Regions from separate parts of the Homo sapiens genome. Here region 2 is linked to region 1. Evidence: promoter capture Hi-C in 16 types of primary human blood cells and fetal thymus (Javierre and others, 2016). All regions are on one chromosome and are shown on one strand. Each heading gives the region's core, a stretch centred on a gene start or on the middle of the fragment in contact. The rest is flanking DNA. Distances are from core to core; before and after follow the strand shown. Region 1 holds the start of NKX6-1 (NK6 homeobox 1). Region 2 holds the start of ABRAXAS1 (abraxas 1, BRCA1 A complex subunit).

Region 1 (3,240 bases), core at 521-3,020:
GGCAGGCAGGCATCGGGGCGCGGGTGGTAGTACTCACGAGGGGTACAGGCCAGGCGTGCGTCCCTCCAGGGCGGGCTCTGCATCACTCCGGGCCAGAAGATGGGCGTCCGGCCAGGCAGCTCAGCCAGCGGCTTGGGGTACCGGCCCACGGCGGCCACGGCCGCGGCGCTGGGGCTGAAGTAGAGCCCGGGCGGCGGCGGCGGCGGGCTCAGGCTGCTAAAGCGTGGCAGTCCGGCCAGCAGCCCCGCCGGGGATGAGGCGGCGGCTGCGGCCGCGGCAGCAGCCGCGGCGGCGGCAGAGGCGGAGGAGGCAGAGGCGGACGAGGAAGAGGAGGAGGAGGAACCGGAGGGCGAGGCGGAGGGCAGGGCGGCCCCCGAGGCCACGGGCATGGAGGGCCGGCTCAGGATATCGTTGATGCCGTGTGGGGTGGCGGCCGAGAGCTGCTGCGGGGGGCTGCCGAGGGATGAGAGCCCCCCCGTGGCCGGGGGCTTCAGGCCGCCTGGGTTGTGGGTGCCCAGAGGCGGGGAGGGCGACGAGGAGGACGACGACGAGGACGAGGAGGAGGGGGGGCCGGCAGGCAGCGGGGGATACGCGGCAGGGTACAGCGGGGTCTTCATCTCGGCCATGCTGTGCAGGGCGGCCAGGGGAGGGCTGCTGAGCAGGAATGCGCTCTGCCGGGTGCCCTCCATTGCCCCCACCGCTAACATCCCACGGCCACGCCGGAGACCGTAGCCTTGCAGCGAGGGCGCTGGCTGGTGCCCCCCGCGGGGCTCAGAGGAGCCGGAAGCGCCGAGGGCGCGAGCGGAGAGGCACTCGGCGCGCCCGGAGGCGAGCTGCCAACTGAACCAAAAATGCCGCTGCCGGGAGTTGCTCGCCTAGCTGCGCAGCAGAGATGTCCAAACCCTCCACGCGGGAGGCGGCAGCTCGCCGAGAAAAGCAGGCGTCCCGGCGGGCTAGGCAGTCCTTTCGTTCCGCGAGTCCTAGATTCGATCCCTGGCTATTCTCTCTTCCTCACTTTTCCTAGCTGTTCAAAGTGCGCTACTTCTCATCTTCTGCCCCCGGGAAATAAGCAAAACAAAACCCAGGCTGGCTCCGGAGAGTTTGTAGCAAAGTTAGTTGCCGAATCTCCACTTTGAAGTTGGAGGGTGGGGGTGGCTTGCTTTCTTTGGGGAGGTTCAAAGGACGCCTTGTGCAGCCCGTGGCGCTCCTCTGATCTTACTGGGATGCTCTGCTCTTTCGGTCGCGCGGCTGATTCGCATTCGACGCTCACTGTGCCCGGGGAGAAAGCGCATCCAGCCCGCGGGAGATCTAGCCTCTGTGCGGGCTTCCTCCGCCCACGCTGCCCCGGGCTGCTGCGCCAGAAAGGGCAGTGCCACGGATCCCCGCGGCTCCCAGGTCCTCACCTCCACCCGCCTTGCCCTCTGGCCCACGGGGCACTGGAGTTGCAATATTGAAAAGAAAAAGGGGGAGGAAAAACACAGAAAAACAAAAGACTAAGTGTGAAAAGTCTGACGGCTGGGTTTCGGCGCCGCTCGTCAGTCCACTTCTGCAAACGGGCCCGGCGACCCCCGCCCCACCCCCGCTCCCTCTCTCCCTCTCACTCTCAGCCTTTGACTCTCCTCTCTGGCATTTTCTTCGCGGCTTCCCAGGCTTCGGTCTTCTAAGTCCTGTCCTCTGGCCAAACTGACCCTCTCCGCGGCTCCTCCGCTCTTTCTCTCCTTTCCTCTCTCCCTCCGGGCCTGACAGTTCAGATGAAGCTCTCAAAGGTAATAAAACATTTGCATCACTCCCTACCCCTCTTTAGCTGGGGGACGAAAGGGAGGGGGAAGTGGGGGACCAAAATGAGAACTTTGAGGGACGTCACTCCGAGGCTGCGGGGGCCGGCGAGCCGGGCGCAGGCCGGGGGCGTAACCACCGTGTCCAATAGCTCGCCGCCTCGATCCTTGCGTCGCCCCTGGGGCTCGCCCACTCGGGGGCGCCGCACCCTCTGATTGGCTGAGGCGGGCCAGGCGTAGGGCCGCGCCCGCCTAGTCCCCTCCCGCTCCCTACTTCTTTCTCCTGTGGGCGGGGCCAGGAGGGGCGGGAGCTGGTGAGTGGTGCGGTTCCGCGCTGGGGCCAGTGGCCGCCTCAATTAATTGTGCTAAATAAAATGAGAAAGGGGAGGGGGAAGCAGAGACGAAGAGGGTATTACTTTTTAAAGAGAGGAATAATGAAAACTCAGCCCTTTTATGGAAAAGCAGTTCATATTCTTCCCTTGCTTCCCCACTAGCCCGCTCGCGTCATCCTATCCCCTTCCCCCACCAGCTCTGGAGGGCGCCTCACCTCGAACCAAGTCTGGTCCCTTGTAAAATGGAGCTAATGGAGCAGGCAGCCGGCGCAGCCCTGGCCTGGCTCCTTCTTTTGAAGGGATTAATTAAAGGCCATCTGGGCTCTCCCAGAATTGTGTAAATTAATTTGTTGCTCCTTAAGCCTTATAGATGTCCTTAATCCCCTTGTAGGCCAAAGGATCGTCCTCTTCCATCTTTCCACCTCCTGCTTTCCTTTTCTGTTCTTTCTCCTCCACTTTATTTTTTTTTTCATTCCCGAGTTCCCCCCCGCCCGTCGCTTCCCACCGCGTTCATTATCATTTATGGGTTACTCAATTCGCTGAAAACTGAATCCGTTTAATAGGAATATTTATCTGTCAGATGATGTTTATACCTGAGAACAGTGAGGGAGTTTTTTCCCTTAACTTTTCTCCCTTTGATTATTGTTGTTATTTCCTTTGGGTTTACATGGGGGTAGAATCATCAAAATTCAGGCGGAAACTTTAGATACAGAAGCATCTAGGTACACCCTGGGAACTGTAAGCTTTTGAAAACCCTCTCCAAAACTCTGGCGCCTACTCCCAATTCTAGAGTTGCTACGGGAGATGGAGATGTACCAGCTCCTGGACAGTGGTGGTGGGATGTCTATCTAGAGTTTAGGAGTTGAAGGGTGGCTTCCTTTACTCTCTAAATCTCTTCCATCTCTGGCTGATCTTTACGTTCCCGACAGGGTTGAACTGCGGGCTGGAGAAGGAAAACCCTTTGACAATTTTGAGAATTCAGCATGTTAAAGTAACACACCATTGGAAGGTGGTCGCTACAGCAAATTTGGATGAGATCATTAATTACAATTTTAATGAGCAGAAAACAGAAATAAACGCAATAAATGGCTCAAGAATAAAATTTGATCAGCACCACCGACGGATGGAGTTTA
Region 2 (3,240 bases), core at 288-2,787, 1.0 Mb before region 1:
TATATTCTTTATAATTAATAATGCTTTTTTCCCCTAAAAGTAAAAAAGGATTATTTCCATAATGTGAGTCTTTACTGGAATCACGCGGGGGGATATCCAGAATCTAGTGTTCTTGATTTTGATACTCAAAAGACGAACTCAGGGAAGGGAAGCAGGGGGGCAATGCAAGTGCAACTAGCCAGAAAAACCACCCTTTAAAGACTTCAGGAAAAAGATCTGAGAAACAGGGGCCTCCCTAGCACTCAGGTACTTCCCAAGGGCTAATCGTTTAAGCTACCGAGGATTTACGGTCCCACTCTATCTACACTACAGGTATTCCAAAATAATTTCCACAGCTACACATATATTTTAAATGGTCATATATTTGTTCTTTATTAGGTATTACTTTGTAAGGTTATCTGAAATTGTATACATAAAACATACCAATTCCAACCTTTATTAGGATTGTGCCAAAGAGCAATTTTGTAATGTTTAGATTTTGTAGAGACCGGGTCTCACTACGTTGTCCCCGATGGTCTCGAACTCGTGGGCTCAGGTGATTCACCCGCCTCGGCTTCCCAAAGGGCTGGAATTACAGGCGTGAGCCACCGCGCCCGACCTATATTAAGGCAATTTTGAGTAAAATAGACGTTATATCTTAAAATGAACTTAGCAGAAATTACTAGGCATTGTTCAGCAGGGTATTCTCCGAACTGTACCACACAGCAGGGAAGTGTATTTCAGATGCTTAGACTTTCTTTCTGCAAGTTACTGAAAGTGCTACAGGACATTAACTACTTCCGAGCTCAACGTTTTACAGCGTTTCTTTAATTTCATAGAACTTTTAGAAAATAGGCAACGTACTTTTAAAAACTGTTTTAACAAATTTAATAACGCAAATAAAAAGATATCTGATATACCAGATTAAGCTGTTCCATCCACTAAGATTTGCCACTGGACGCAACATCTATTTTTATTCCCTTACCATCCTACCATCGCAACAAACACGCACAGACGCTGCTCTGCATGAAAAAGTCCGCCTGGTTTTGCAAACGCCTGTCGGGCGTCGCGAGAAACGGAAAGTTTACCGCAGGCTCCGCAGAGCAGCGGAAAGACGCTCCGTGAACTTTCCATCTTTTCACGCCCAAGTTTCCACAGCTACAGGGGCGCCGAGGAAAGATGGGAGCGTGTGGGACACTTGGGTCGGAAAAGGGAAATAACGGAGGATAGCAGAGGGAGGGCTAATGCTGGAGAAGACTTCGTGGGCACGAGGCACCTCAGGGACCGCTGAGGGGGAGAGAAGGCAGAGCCGCGACCGCAGGGAGGAGGCGCGGCGGCGTCGGGGGAGCGGGCGGGGACCGGAGCAACAGCGGGGAGGCAGGCCGCGCGCAGGGCTCTTCCCAGGCGACGCCGGACCCCGCCCCGTCCCTCGGCTCACCGTGTCCGAGTCCGTGTTGAGGTGCTGGAAAGCGAGTGCGCCGAGCACAAAGCCCGAGAGCACCGCCGACGTACTCTCCCCCTCCATGCTACCGCCGCCTCAGGCTACACAAGAGGACGAGGGCGGGGCGCGCGGAGGCAAGACCCTGTGGTGGCAGCGAGGCGGGGCCCAGCGAGGAGGCGGGGCCTGCGCCGGCGCACGGGCTGCTGCGCGCTCCGCAGAGGGGCGGGGCGAGGGGGCTGAGGGCGGGCGCGGGCGGGTCCCCAGCCGCGCGCTCGGCTCCTCCTTCGCTTCTGCTGCCGGCCTCTCCCGGAAGGCCGCTGCATGTCGGTACCACTGCAGAGGGCTGCGAATTGCTTTTGGTGGCCTGCGCCTGCTGAGCGACCTGTCACAAACATGCAAAGCTATCAAAATGAACACGGTTGACAGGGTCATTTTAAGACAAGCAATGATTACAAGAATAAAAGAGTTGAGTAGCAACATTACGATGCCACAGTGGATATGCCACGGTTTTGGTTTTCAAGCTGCATTTTAGCACCCTTCACTCACTGAAACTTACAGAATACTAATAACCATTTGGGGATTGTCTTTGCTAGAACTCTCTAGCCATGTTCTGTGTCTGTGTGTTTGTGTGTGTGCATGTGTGTGTTCCCTTGCTTTTAGAAAACTTCAGCCTAATTTAAACAATACATGGATATTTAATGTTCTGACAGTTTAATGATAGGCATAATCATAGTAAGCTGGTTCATTTAATGTAAATGGTAAGGTGAGTGGACCAGGGCTTGGCAAATGTATTTTACACACACACACACACACACACACACGTAAAGGTATGTTTCTTAAATGACTGAAAGTAAGCATAATAGCAGACTACTGAATTAGTGTGGCACATTTGTGGGTTTTGTTGTCAAGCAGTTGTCTGTGGCTGCGTAACACACAATACATATGTATATAATTAATGATTATATATTTATTCCCTAGAATTAAGTTTCTTGCCTTCATTTTGTAGGGGTGAAGGGAAAGCTCTGCCCTCTGAAGGTTCACTGGAGTGAACTAACAAAAGAAAAGATGAACAGAAGGAAAAGGGATACGAATTTATTTTATTTTTTATTTTTTTGAGACTGAGTCTCGCTTGGTCACCCAGGCCAGAGTGCAGTGGCACCATCTCAGCTCACTGCAGCCTCCACTTCCCGGGTTCAAGCGATTCTTCTGCCTCAGCCTCCTGAGTAGCTGGGATTACAGGCACGTGCCACCAAGCCCGGCTTATTTATTTATTTTTTTTGTATTTTTATTAGAGACAAGGTTTCACCATGTTGGCCAGGCTGGTTTCGAACTCCTGACCTCGGGTGATCTGCCCCCTTCGGCCTCCCAAAGTGCTGGGATTACAGGCGCTCCCGACTGGCATACAAATTTATTAATGTGCCCTGGAGAAAATCACAGTAGAGTGATTACCCAATAATCCAATGAGGTTCAGATGCTTATGTACACTTTTTCATAAGGGAGAGGGAGATGGAGGAATGTAAGTAATTTTGAGGATCACAATTGATTCTTTGGATGAGCTTGAGGGATTGCTTGCAAAGAATTCTTTGTGGAAGTTGGATGAGCCCAAACAGCAGTCAATAACTTAGTACAAAGTTCCTCTGGGCTCTAGATTTGATGTTTGACTTTCAGTCTTCTTTCCACAGTCAGTAGATAATGAAATTTCAATGAAGGGGTGGAAGACAATTGTCGTAGGGTTGATAAAGAGTGGACAGTCGTGCAGGAGTATGATTACACAAAGGGAGTATGATGTAATGGTAACAAACTGGGGGAACTTAGAATGG

The links. Contacts are between HindIII fragments. The CHiCAGO score rates a contact against its expected background, and 5 or more counts as called.
Region 2: a fragment that was not itself captured here is called in contact with the fragment with the promoter of NKX6-1 in region 1 in 1 of 17 cell types (monocytes); the score reaches 9.1 in monocytes.

Annotation. Positions count from the first base shown.
Region 1 is chr4:84,497,522-84,500,761 of GRCh38, forward strand. NKX6-1 (NK6 homeobox 1) reads right to left here and starts at 1,771. Exons shown (of 3, transcript NM_006168.3): 1 at 38-1,771. The coding sequence starts at 707. The HindIII fragment of the contact is 5,978 bases long and covers 1-2,848 here.
Region 2 is chr4:83,483,569-83,486,808 of GRCh38, forward strand. It overlaps ABRAXAS1 (abraxas 1, BRCA1 A complex subunit), which reads right to left and starts at 1,532. Exons shown (of 9, transcript NM_139076.3): 1 at 1,418-1,532. The coding sequence starts at 1,504. RefSeq lists a silencer at 1,258-1,747. The HindIII fragment of the contact is 4,128 bases long and covers 1-3,240 here.